Linked DNA regions of Homo sapiens: regions 2 and 3 are each linked to region 1. The links are contacts of gene promoters, found by promoter capture Hi-C in human tissues and cell types (Jung and others, 2019). All regions are on one chromosome and are shown on one strand. The core of a region is centred on a gene start or on the middle of the fragment in contact, and the rest is flanking DNA. Distances in the headings are between cores, read along the strand shown.

Region 1 (4,002 bases), core at 798-3,297:
ACTCCCCTACCAGATTCTGGACTTGCATGAGGCCCATTGGCCCCTTTGTTTTGGCCAATTTCTCCCGTTTGGAATGGGAACATTTACCCAATGCCTGTACCTGTACCCGCATTGCATCTTGGAAGTCACTAACTTGCTTTTGATTTTACAGGCTCGTAAGTGGAAGGGACTTGCCTTGTCTCAGATGAGACTTTGAACTTGGACTTTTGGGTTAATGCTGGAATGAGTTAAGACTTTGGGGGACTGTTGGGAAGGCATAATTGGTTTTGAAATGTGAAAAGGGCATGAGATTTGGGAGGGACCAGTGTCAGAATGATATGGTTTGGCTCTGTGTCCCCACCCAAATCTCATCTTGAATTTTAATCCCCATGTGTCAAGGGAGGGACCTGGTGGGAGGTGATTGGATCATGGGGGTGGTTTGCCCCATGCTCTTCTCATGATAGTAAGTGAGTTTTCATGAGGTCTGATGGATTCATAAGTGGCAGTTTCCCCTGCTCTCCCCTCTCTCCTGCTGCCTTGTGAAGAAATTGCCTGCTTCCCCTTTGCCTTCCATCATGATTGTAAGTTTCCTGAGGCCTTCGCAGCCATGCAGAACTGTGAGCCAATTAAACCTCTTTTGCTTATATATCACCCAGTCTCAGGTATTCTTTAGAGCAGTGTGAAAATGAACTAGTATACGTGAATTCAAATGATAATACTTAAGAGACTCATGTCCAAAAGATAACAGGAGCAGTTTTAGAACAAAACTATAATGAAGGATCTAAAGTGCTGTACTGGGTTCTCTTGACTTACCCAGTGTGCAATGTTATGACCTTGGGCAGGCCCCTTTACACTGTGCAACGTGGGATTCAAATGCGATGGTGGATGGAACCTTGTCCTGAACCTAATTCCATGGGAAGCATTTAACATTTCATCATGACATATGTTTGTTGTAGGCATTTGGTACATACCTTTTATTACCTCATGGAAGTATTCTGCTAAGAGGGGTCTGGTTTGTTTGTGGTTTTTGGTTTGTTTGCTTGCTTGTTTTTTAGAGAGACAGGGTCTCATTCTGTCACCTCAGCTGGAATTCAGTGTTGTGATCCTCACCCACTGCAGCCTTCAACTCCTGAGTTCAAGCGATCCTCCCACCTCAGCCTCCTGAGTAGCTGGGACTGCAGGCACATGCCACCATGCCTGTTAAATTTTTTGATTTTTTTTTTTCAGAATGGGGGTCTCACTCCATTGCCCAAGCTGGTCTCAAACTGTTAGCCTCTAGTGATCCTCCCACCTTGGGCTCCCAAAGAGCTGGGATTACAGGTGTGAGCCACTGTACCCAGGCAAAAGATAACTTTGGAACACCACCTGAGAATGTTACTTACAATGAATCCTGTCCTCATTCTCATTTACTTATTTGGATGGAGTTTCCTGAAATTTGTCTCACTATCATCTAGGATCCTTTTTCTTTCTCCAACTGGGAGATTGTGTCTGGTTTGGAAACTGCAAGCCCTGTTCAGGAAAAGGGAAAAGACCCAAGGCACACACCCAGTCCCCAGGTGATCATCAGGCCCAGGTGAAAACTCAGGCCTTAGGTGCACCTCCGGCCTCAGGTGGACACCCAGGCCCCAGGTGATCACCAGTCCCCAGGTGGACACAAGGCCTTAGGTGAACAACAAGACCCAGTAGGCCATCAGGCCCCAGCTGGATACAGTCCCCAGGTGAACACAAGGCCCCAAGAGGGACATAGGCCAAGGCAGACATCAGGCCCCAGGTGGACATCAGGCCTGAGGACGACATCTGGCCCCTGGTGAACATCAGGCACAGGTGTCCAAGCAGAGCCTGGGTGGACATAACTGTGTACGGGTCAGGAGATGACCTGAGGGGAGGGTGAGTAGTCAGTAACCCAGTGGAGTCCTGAGTAGGCTTATGGAAGGAAGGGGCCTAGGGGACAGAACCGTAAAGAAGCGACCTCACTTCCTCGATGATGACACACACGAAGAGAACTTAGAACTCTGGTAACCAGGCACCCATATCCTAGAGTCAGCGCCGTAACCAGCTCACTTTGTGGGAGACGCTCAAGAGAGCAAGATGTTCTCCTGTTGCTTCCCCACTTCGAGAGGTTGCTGCTTCAGGAATGGAGGGAGTGAGAGCCTTTTCCGACAATGCCGAAGAAGGCTCATCCCTCACCCCAGACGCCTGTGGCCCTTTGTAAGAAGGCGCACCCAGGTACCACAGGACAGCCCGGGGCAGGCCCTAGCTGGCCAGGCCACACCAGAGATCCCATCGGGGCTGCCTCTGCACATTGTCCTTGTCCAGGAGGAGATTCGGGAGCCCATGGAGGCACAGACACATGGTGAGGTGGCTGCAGCCTGGAAGACTTTGCGGGGGCGGTGCTTTTGGGCTGGAATGCCTTTGAATTCAGTGAGGTTGTCTCTGTGTTTGGAAATTCCAGTGGAAAGTGACTGATGCTGGTGACCCTTTCTCCTTTTTCAGCTCCTGGTCCGTACGCAGACATAGCAGCACTTGCGGCACCGGCTGTCGAGCCAAAGCCAGCATGGGAAGAGCCCCCTCCAGAGAGAGCGCTGGAGGTGGAGGGAGCTCCAGCCAAGGACCAGCCCAGCCAGGAGCTGCCTGAAATCATGGCACCTACTGTAGCCACTGGCCTTAATGCTGGAGCTGAAAACGTGGCTGGAGAGAGAAGTGGGAGGGAGGGGGTGACAAGCACAGCCCCAGCCAGCAGATCCCATGCTGCCCCTAGTCCTGGGCATGGTGGCAAACATGGAGGCGGAGACCAGGGCATTCAGACTGGACTCCTGTACCTCGCTGGAGAGAGGCTTCTCTCATTCGCCGGAACCACAGCCCTGCTGCTGCAGGGCCTGTTTATTGTGCTAATTCTGGTGGGGTATATCTCTGTGAAGGTGATGCTCAAGAGCATTAAAACAAGGCTGGGAAGAAGAGTTCCAGCAGCTCCTCCTGCTCTCAGACGCAATCTTCTCCTCCAGGCATGGAAGTGTGTCTGCAACTGGGCATCCAGGCTGTTTGCCCCTAATGTGCTGCCCCGAACGGGCTCTTAACAGGTGGGCAGGGGTTGAGGGGACCAGGAGGTGGCTCCAAAGGGTACAGCAAGGAAAGCTTTTAAAGACAGCTGTTGTGCTCCAGGCTCTCCATGCCACCACCTGCCCTAGCATTTATTAATAGTGTTAGAATTACAAGTTTATGAAATGAAATATAAATAAAGTTTGATTTCTGAAACTTCTCACCTTTTTGAACTCCCTAATGTTAGATGGTGTTTTTGAGGCTATCCTGAAAATCTCGGATAGTTGTGTCTTTTGTTGTGGTTGTTTGTGTGGCTGAATTACCATCGAGTCATCTGTTATTGGAAACCTTTCAGGTATGGCTTTTAGAAGACCTTGACCCACTCTTGCCTGTTTTGACTCTCTGGTTTATTGTGGAAAGAGGGATGATGTAGGCTCATGTCTCCGGCAGATCAATCACCTTTTGCCATCAAGGATTTGGCATCAGAGTTTCCAAGAATTATGTGTGCAAATTGACATGCTGGTACTTTAGCTAATCTGGGTGTCAAAACAGAATGCCATAGACTAGGTAGCATAGAAAATTGATTTCTCACAGTTCTGGAGATGGTAAAATCCGAGGTCAAATGGTCAGCAGATTCCGTGTCTGCAGAGGGCTGGCTTCCTGGTTCATAGACAGCCATCTTTTTACTGTGTCTTTACATGACAGAAGGGGTGAGGGAGCTCTCTGCAGTCCCTTTGATAGGGACACCAATTCCATTCATGAGGTCCCTGCCTTCATGAACCGAATCACCTTCCAAGGCCCCACCCCCAAATACCATCACATAGAATCCAACGCATGAATTTGAGGAGGACAATAACATTTGCTTTATAGAATCAGGTCACCCCGAGCCATATGCACTCACAGGAAATCTATAATCTTCTATTAAGTATTTGCTGGTCCCCTCTGGGGATTGTCTAAACAAAATTGTCTAAACAAAAATTTAGACAA
Region 2 (4,002 bases), core at 540-3,039, 41 kb after region 1:
CATCTCTCGGTGACGACTTGCTTCAGGTCCTTGCACATGCATATATGGAGAGAAGGGTGTCAAAGCACAATCTCATGTTTGCTCTGATTTTTCTCTCTATGAATTGTTTTTAATTTCCTTTTTTCAGAGACCAACAGATTTGTAGAAAATGAGGCAAGATTATTTACAGAACATTAGCTTCTGTATATAATGTTTATATTTATATTATGACATTTTGTTGACATGGCCAAAACGATTTTACCTTTAGGTAAATAGAAGAACTGCTTGATCGAAAAGATGCCCACTTTTCAAGAGCACAGTTGAAGGGAACAGTTGAAGGTGATAATCACAATAACATAATGGTAGGAAGAACAGAAATTGCTGTGTGCTTGCTTTATGCCAAGCATTGAGCACAACTTTGAAATGGTTAAATCTCATTTAATCCCCACAATAATAATGACTGTTTTATAGATGAAGAAACTAGAGTTTACAGAAGGGAAATTACTCAAATCTACAGTTTATAACTGGTTTTTATTTTCACAGCCAGGTCTGTAGGACTTTAAAGCCCCAGCCTAGGCACTACTTTTGTCCTAAAGATGTGCATTTATTGTCTGTGATATGTAAGAGACCATAAATATTGGTCTCAATGCAAATTAATTTTCAAAGATCTATCAACAAAAGTAAGCTTGGTAAAAGATGATTTTAAACAGAACATTCAGTAAAGATTAAACAAGATGCACAATCCAATCAAAGAAAATGTGTTAAGTCCTCACAGGGGCATTTTCTACAGATTTACACATAGCTTTTCCATGTGAAAAGGAAACTATGTAATTCTTGTTTAGCTTCCTCCATCTAAAGTGACACAATGTACCAAATAGCTTAAATTAATGGTTAGATTTGGTTAATTATCAAGGCTTCCTCTTTGAAAATCATAAATTTATTTTACTTTTTTTTTTTTTTTTTGAGGCGGAGTTTTGCTCTTGTTGCCCAGGCTGGAGTGCAGTGGCGTGATCTCGGCTCACTGCAACCTCCGCCTTCTGGATTGAAGTGATTCTTCTGCCTCAGCCTTCCGAGTAGTGGGGATTACAGGCACCCACCACCACACCCAGCTAATTTTTGTATTTTTAGTAGAGACAGGGTTTTACCAGGTTGGCCAGGCTGGTCTCGAACTCCTGACCTCAGGTGATTCACCTGCCTCGGCCTCCCAAAGTGCTGGGATTACAGGTGTGAGCCACCGCACCTGTCCAAAAATCATAAATTTAACTTGGATATGGAATTAATTTGGCCCTTTCTTTATTTCAGTGAAAGACGTATAAAAAATTGCCCCCTTATCAACACAAAGGGTTTCTCCTGACCATTATTTCCAGGTATGCACAGTCTCCTAACTATGACAACAGAAATCATTCTGAACTCCTTCCATTTCCCAGGGAGAAAACAGAAGCACCTTGGGCAGAGTGAAAAAGAAACCACCTGGAGAGGAGGCCCTGCAACATGAACCCATCTTTAGGCCCAAGGGCATTCTGACATCTGAAATCAAAGTCATGATTGCCTCCATTTCTAGAAAATGTTCCAGAAATATTTCCAGGATATATAATTATTAAAGCACAGGCTTTGTTGTCTTTAGGCTTGGAAAGGTCTTTGAAAGTTATTTGGATTAAATCATTAGAAATTTACTAACACTGATATCAAGTTAATGGTTAAAAACAAAGCTTTGTCCACCCCCAGGCCCAGGAGAAATGTGCACATATGTTCACCAAGAGACGTGTACAAGTATTTTCACACCAATATTATGAGCCAAAAACTCAAAACAACCCAAATGTTCACCTAAAGTGGAATAAACACAGTATTGTGGCGTTCCTATAACGAACTACTACTACGCAACGAGCACAAATAAACTCTAACTCCCAATAATGTGACCGGATCTCACAAACATTGTATTGGAATACGGAGGCCAGACCCAAAAGAGGATGTTGTACATGGATGAAATTTATAGAAAATTCAAAAACAGGCAAAGCTGATACATGGTATTAGACAGGGCAATGATTATCCTTAGTGCAGAGGGAGACAGTGACTAGAATGATGCATGAGGGAGGTTCTGGGTTTCTGGGAATGTTCTGTTACTGTTCGTGTTAGGAGGAGGGGTGCAAAGGGTAGTGACGAGGCCCACCCTCTGGACCCTGCAGCATGAGAGAGAGTCTTGATCCTGATGGCAGAAACCATCCCCCGAGCCCAGGGCCACCCATAGGACAGACACCACGAAGCCACATTCTGAGGCCAGTCTCAGCCATTCTTGCTGCCCTCCAACCCTGTCCCAGCCAAAGATGAACCTCCAGGGGTGGGGAAGGATGGACAGACAGCATCCAATGCACTCTGAGAGCCTCTGCACCTGGGTGGATGAATCTTTGTGTCCAGGGCTGGCTGTCAGTAGATCCAGGCTTTCATTCCTAGAAGTGGTTAGTTTCCAAGATTTTCAGAAAATAATGTCTAATTATAAAATTTTAAAAATATATAGAAGAGTTTTTGGCCAGGCATGGTGGCTCATGCCTGTAATCCCAACACTTTGGGAGGCCGAGGTGAGTGCATCACCTGAGGTCAGGAGTTCAAGACCAGCCTGACCAACATGGAGAAACCCCGTCTCTGCTAAAAAATACAAAATTAGTTATGCGTGGTGGCACATGCCTGTAATCCCAGTTACTCAGGAGGCTGAGGCAGGAGAATCACTTGAACCTGGGAGGCGGAAGTTGCAGTGAGCCGAGATCATGCCATTGCACTCCACCCTGGGCAACAAGAGTGAAACTCTGTCTAAAAAAAAAAAAAAAAAATATATATATATATATATACACACACACACACACACACACACACACACATATATATATAGAGAGAGGAGTTTTATAATAGCAATACAAAATGAAACCATCATGTATTTCACAGATAAATTTAAAAACTGAATTAAAAAGTATATCAAATCCCATATTTTTTCAGTTTGCTGGCCTGAAATAAAGTAATAATGTGAGGTTTAAGTAATGTCAATTATTTTCACAACTATAATACCATTCAGTGTTTATCCTGTACTCTGTACTCTCTTTATAATTAAGGATCTATACAGACCATTACAAAACACTTGAGTGGGCTGAAACCATTAGGGTCCATTCTGGAACTATTGTTTTCAATTTGCTCTCCCAACTTGCATATTCTTATGTGTTCAGCATTTCTTATTAACCCTGTATTTTTGTCCACTCATTTTTCACTTCTTAAATTTCACTCTATCTTACTGATAATATTTCAGGCTTCTTCTGAGAAAACAAGAGGCTGGGCATGGGTGGCTTATGCCTGGAATCCCAGCACTTTGGGAGGCCAAGGCGAGCGGATCACTTGCATCCAGAAGTTCAAGACCAGCCCGGGCAACATGATGAAACCCCATCTCTACAAAAAATACAAAAAATTAGCTGGGCATGGTGGCACACTCCTGTAGTCCCAGCTACTCGGGTGGATCACTTGAGTGCAGAAGGTCAAGGCTGCAATGAGCCATAATCGCACCACTGCACTCCAGACTGGGTGCCAGAGTAAGACCTTGTCTCAAAAAAAAAAAAAAAAGAAAAAAAAAACTAAATTGGAAATTGCTCAGTTTACTCCCTTATAACTGCTATAGTATGGATGTTTTTATGCAACAAGAGAGCTAAGAAATCCTTCTAACAATTTCCTGAAGTAGATCACAAATATCTTACTACTCTACAAAATTTTTATTATTTCTTATACTTAATGATATCGTTATTGATATATCATTTCAAGGCAAGTAGTAACAGTTGTCACTGGAGAAGTTGTTTATATAAGAAGTGAAATAATCTGTTAAACCTCACTTTAAGTGTGCCAGTTTTGATGCTAGGACTAAGGCAATGTGTATCCAAGTGTAGATCTGTGCCAGTTATATCAGAATCAAGGATGCTTATTAAAAATGCAAACTCTCACATCTGTAATCCCAGCACTTTGGGAGGCCGAGGTGGGTGGATCACCTGAGGTCAG
Region 3 (4,002 bases), core at 595-3,094, 33 kb before region 1:
AACACTGTCCGCATAGACCTTCCTTGTCCTGATGGGAGGAACAGAGGTGCTCAGGGCCCCCTGGGCTGCCCTAAAAACCTCCATCTTCCAGGGCCTCTGAAGACCCTTCCCCTAGTGCAGAACACTGGGCGGTGTCCAGAGCTCCCCACAACACTGTCCCCTTCCCACACTCTCAGTGGACACACTGACCTTTGACTTGCTCTGCGGGAGCGGGGCCCCCATCCCTGTGCCTCTGTCTCCTCCAGGGCAGGAAAGGAAACAAACTCCCAGCCCATGGAGAACCCGACGTCTCAGGTCAGGCCCTGGCTGGGACTCCGCCAGTCACCAGTCCCACGAGGGTCTCCAGTCCCCCTGCTCCTACAGCCCCACGGGAGGCAAGGCCTCTGAGAAGAGCCAAGGGGACAATAAACTCACCTGATGCCACATGGTCTTGGGTTGTGACTTGGGTACCACATGCTCCTGTTGGTCTTGGAGCCCCTGGACTGTCCCGCCATTTGGGCTGTGGAATCCTGAGAAGCCCCCAGCCCATCATGAAATCAGAGCCTTCCCCCAAGATGTGGAGCCATCAGCTGCAAGAGCTGGGCAGCTGCAGAGGCCCCCAAACCCGAAGGCCTCCCACCCTCCCATCTGGTGACCCCACCATGCGGCCTTTGCCCTGGGGAGGTGGGACAAGAACATCCCCTGGAGCCTGGCTGGAGGTTCCCCTGGAGGCCTCCTGGGCTAGGGTGCAAAAAGGGCAAGCCTGACTTTGAGGTCACAACAGAGCAGCCAGAACACGGTGGGTGCTGGGCTTCCTGGTCATCTTGTGGAAGTGGGGTTGGGCCAGGGGACACGGGATGGGGAGATGCTGCCACCTGGGCTTGGTTAGCCCATTCGTGGGCACCAAGGGCAGCAGGAGCCTGGGCAGCTGGAGGGCAGGAGGACTCTCAGGGAGGGGAGAGTCAGCTGCACAGAGTCAGAGCCGGAGGGCGTGGCTCCAGGACACAGAGGGTGGCCACGGGGAGGATGAGATGCCCTCTGCTGATGGGGATGAAAGGCATTTGACTTGGGCTGTGGGGGTCAGCTGCGGACTCCTGTGGGACCCTCAGCAGAGACGTCCTAAAGGCTCCCAACAAGCTGGCGACACAAGGATGGTGCCTTGGCTGAAAGCCGAGATCACCTGGCCACGGTGGCTGTCCCCAGATCTGGCTGCATGAGGCCCCACGGGCAGCTGTTCACCTACCCGGCAGGGAGTGCCTCTCACTGGCCAGCAGCTGCACCAGTGCCCAGAATGCATCTTCCTCAGGCAGATAAAGGAGAAACAAGGTGGCAATGTGGCTCAGGTCCCTGCAGTAGCCCACCTCCTGCAAGAGCCAGAATCGCCATGGAAGGACATCACCTGGGAGGGCCGAGGTCACCTGGGAGGACTCATGTCATTGGAGAGGGCAGAGGTGACTGGGGAGGCTTCCTCTGAAGAGGCTTCCTCAGGATGCAAATTCATTTCATGACAAGAGCCAAGTCCATCAGGCACTTCAGCACCTTGTCCAAATTGTCTCCTGAGAGCACCGTCCTGCATGTGACACTGCCAAGCTCCCAGGCTTTGGGGCAGCCCCAGGAGGAGGGTGTCATTTCTTGTTCTGAGAAGTGCCCAGGTGACAGGCCCAGGTGACACCAGGAGTCCAGGCCCCAAGTCCTTTGTGTCTCAGCTTGACCCCTTGAGACCACCCCCTTGCTTGGAGGTTTATGCCAGCAGTGACCTGGAATCCTACCTCCTATATCCTGGTGGGTCACAAATACTAACTTTAAAAGAAGCAACGACACCCCCATCAGACACCCACTCCTGTGAATATGGAAATATGGCCCAGGAACCTCACTGCCGGGAATACTCACCGGGTTATACTCTGAATATGCCACAAGGATGTAGAATAGTTCCCGCTGCCTAGGAAACAGAGAAAGGGGGCTAGGGTTTGGTTTGTGCAGATGCTGTTAGTTTCACTTTGTCTACAAATCCTAAAAACAAATCCCATTTCAGGTTCAGATGATTCACCAGATAAGCAGTGAACTTTCAGGGCCTGAGATTATTGAAGAAATGTTTCAGTAAAATCCACATCTGTGACATGCAAATAGCCCAGTTGTACAGGGAGTTGACCGATCCTTTTCACTCTGAATGATTTTTTTTTTTTTTCAGTTTGCACACACGCCAGTTCAGTCTTTGGGTGTACAGTTCCTCCACGGTTCCAAACCAGTGTGCAGAGTCTCCCGGCCACCACTCCAGCCCCTCCTGGAGTGACTCCTGATCTTTCAAATCTCCAGGGTTTCCCCTATGCACCCAGCCTCTCCCCGATCCGTCAGCCCCTGGCCACCCAGACTGCTTCTCAGTCCCTATGGTTTGGTCTTTTCCAGAATGGCCTAGGAATGGGAATCCTACTGTGGTAGCTTATTGGGTCTGGCTTCTTTCCCTTAGCAAAATGCATCTAGGATCCACCCACATTCCTGCGGGCATCACTGGCTCATTCCCTTTTCTCACTGGGTCTTCTGTTTGAAAGGAGGACCAGACTGTCTCTCCCCATTCCCGTGTTGAAGGCCATCCCCGAAGGCTTCGTGTGTGACTGATGAGGAATCAAGCAGTGAACGTGGCATGCAGGTTTCATGTGGATGTCAGTTTTCAAATCAGTGGGTTCAATATCTGTGACACCTTGGGGACGTGTGGTTCAAGTCCATTGAGCTTTGTGAGCCACTGCCCAACTGGCTGCCAACGTGGCTGTGCCATGTCATATTCCCAGCAGACCTGGATGAGAGTTTCCAGGACCCCTAATTCTCCCAGCATTTGGTGCTGTCAGTGTTGCCTGGGGAGGCTCATGGGCTCTCCATCCTGCCACCCTCCCGTGGGTCCTACCATGGGTCCCCGTGGGTCAGGGAGAGCACCTTTCACCATTATGCATGATTTTGTTTGCTGTCTTCTGTCTCCTCAGGATCCTCCTGGGTTCTGGCCCCACATGTTCCAGCCTGGCCCAGGGCTTGGAACCAGGGAGGTGCTTGGTTCATGGTGCCGGCTGCTCCCTGGGCTAGGAGAGCTCTTGGCAGCTCTGTCATCCCTCCTGGGTGATCCTGGCTTCTGCTCTGGGAAAGTCCCCATCCCTCTCATTCACCCCATCTCCTCTGGGACCCTGTGGCTCTCGTAGGCTTACTTCACTCCATATCGATCCCTGAAGAAGACATGGTTCTGGAGAGTCCTGCTCACGTCCAGTTTGATCTGGTGGATGTGTTCAGAAGACCTCTTGCCCTTCTCCTTCATGATCTGTAGGGCAGGGCCAAGAGGAGGAAGCAGCCTCAGAACAGATGGAAGACTCCCTGCCCCAAATGGCAGTCAGCCCACAGTCAGCGCTTTGGGAAGGAAGGAAAGAAGGAAGGTTTCCTTGTGCAGAAAGCTGCTTTTTGGCTTGTTACTGAAGCCAGGGAGGGTCACCAGAGCCGAGTTCATCTGTGGTGACTATGTCACCATCTGTGCCCAGGAAGTGCATCTGACCATCCCCCCCACCCCCCCAGGCTGGGCTTGACGTTCACTCCAGCTGGAGGCCTGGGCCCCTGACACAGCCTGTCCTGTTTGTTGTGCTCTGGCTGAGCATACCTAGTATTTTTTGGGGTGTTTTGACTTGATTTCCTGAATGTTCAGGAGGACTGACAACACCAGGCCCCGGATGTTCATGGGAATGCCCTTATAGATGCGATCTATGAGCTGTGGGCAGAAAACAATCTGGTGTCACAGGCCATGGGGTGACCCCAGTGAGGATCAGAGCCCAGGGATTCTGGAAATTTTTGGTTTTGGCCCCATGATTCCTCAGTAGAGGTGAGATCAAGCTGGGACAGGGTCTCCCTTCCCAGGACTGAAAGAGTGGATGGACACTCAGAGTTGAAACTGTGATCCGAACCTTTTTCTTCCTTCAGGTCACCAGGGCATCCCTAGCCTTGAGCTCCAGGTGGTCCCAGCCCTAGATTCAGATTCCCTCCCAGCAAGGTGACGCT

The links. The method cuts DNA at HindIII sites, captures the fragments that hold promoters and counts their contacts. A contact is called where the count stands out against the background at its distance.
Region 2: a contact is called between a fragment that was not itself captured here and the fragment with the promoter of CDRT15L2 in region 1, in 3 of the 25 tissues and cell types used here (H1 embryonic stem cells, dorsolateral prefrontal cortex and spleen).
Region 3: a fragment that was not itself captured here is called in contact with the fragment with the promoter of CDRT15L2 in region 1 in 2 of the 25 tissues and cell types used here (spleen and stomach).

The regions. Positions count from the first base shown.
Region 1 is chr17:20,577,677-20,581,678 of GRCh38, forward strand. It overlaps CDRT15L2 (CMT1A duplicated region transcript 15 like 2), which reads left to right and starts at 2,048. Exons shown (of 2, transcript NM_001190790.2): 1 at 2,048-2,332; 2 at 2,473-3,235. The coding sequence starts at 2,068. The coding sequence ends at 3,053. LOC105371580 (a long non-coding RNA gene) reads right to left here and starts at 2,015. Exons shown (of 4, transcript XR_934315.4): 1 at 1,362-2,015; 2 at 951-1,176. RefSeq lists an enhancer at 1,211-2,209. The HindIII fragment of the contact is 15,974 bases long and covers 1-3,866 here.
Region 2 is chr17:20,619,384-20,623,385 of GRCh38, forward strand. The region is part of intron 2 of LINC02088 (long intergenic non-protein coding RNA 2088); the gene reads right to left. Among named protein-coding and RNA genes, the nearest start is that of LINC02088, 12 kb to the right of the region's middle. The HindIII fragment of the contact is 3,404 bases long and covers 88-3,491 here.
Region 3 is chr17:20,544,601-20,548,602 of GRCh38, forward strand. It overlaps the pseudogene TBC1D3P3. Among named protein-coding and RNA genes, the nearest start is that of CDRT15L2, 33 kb to the right of the region's middle. The HindIII fragment of the contact is 9,690 bases long and covers 1-4,002 here.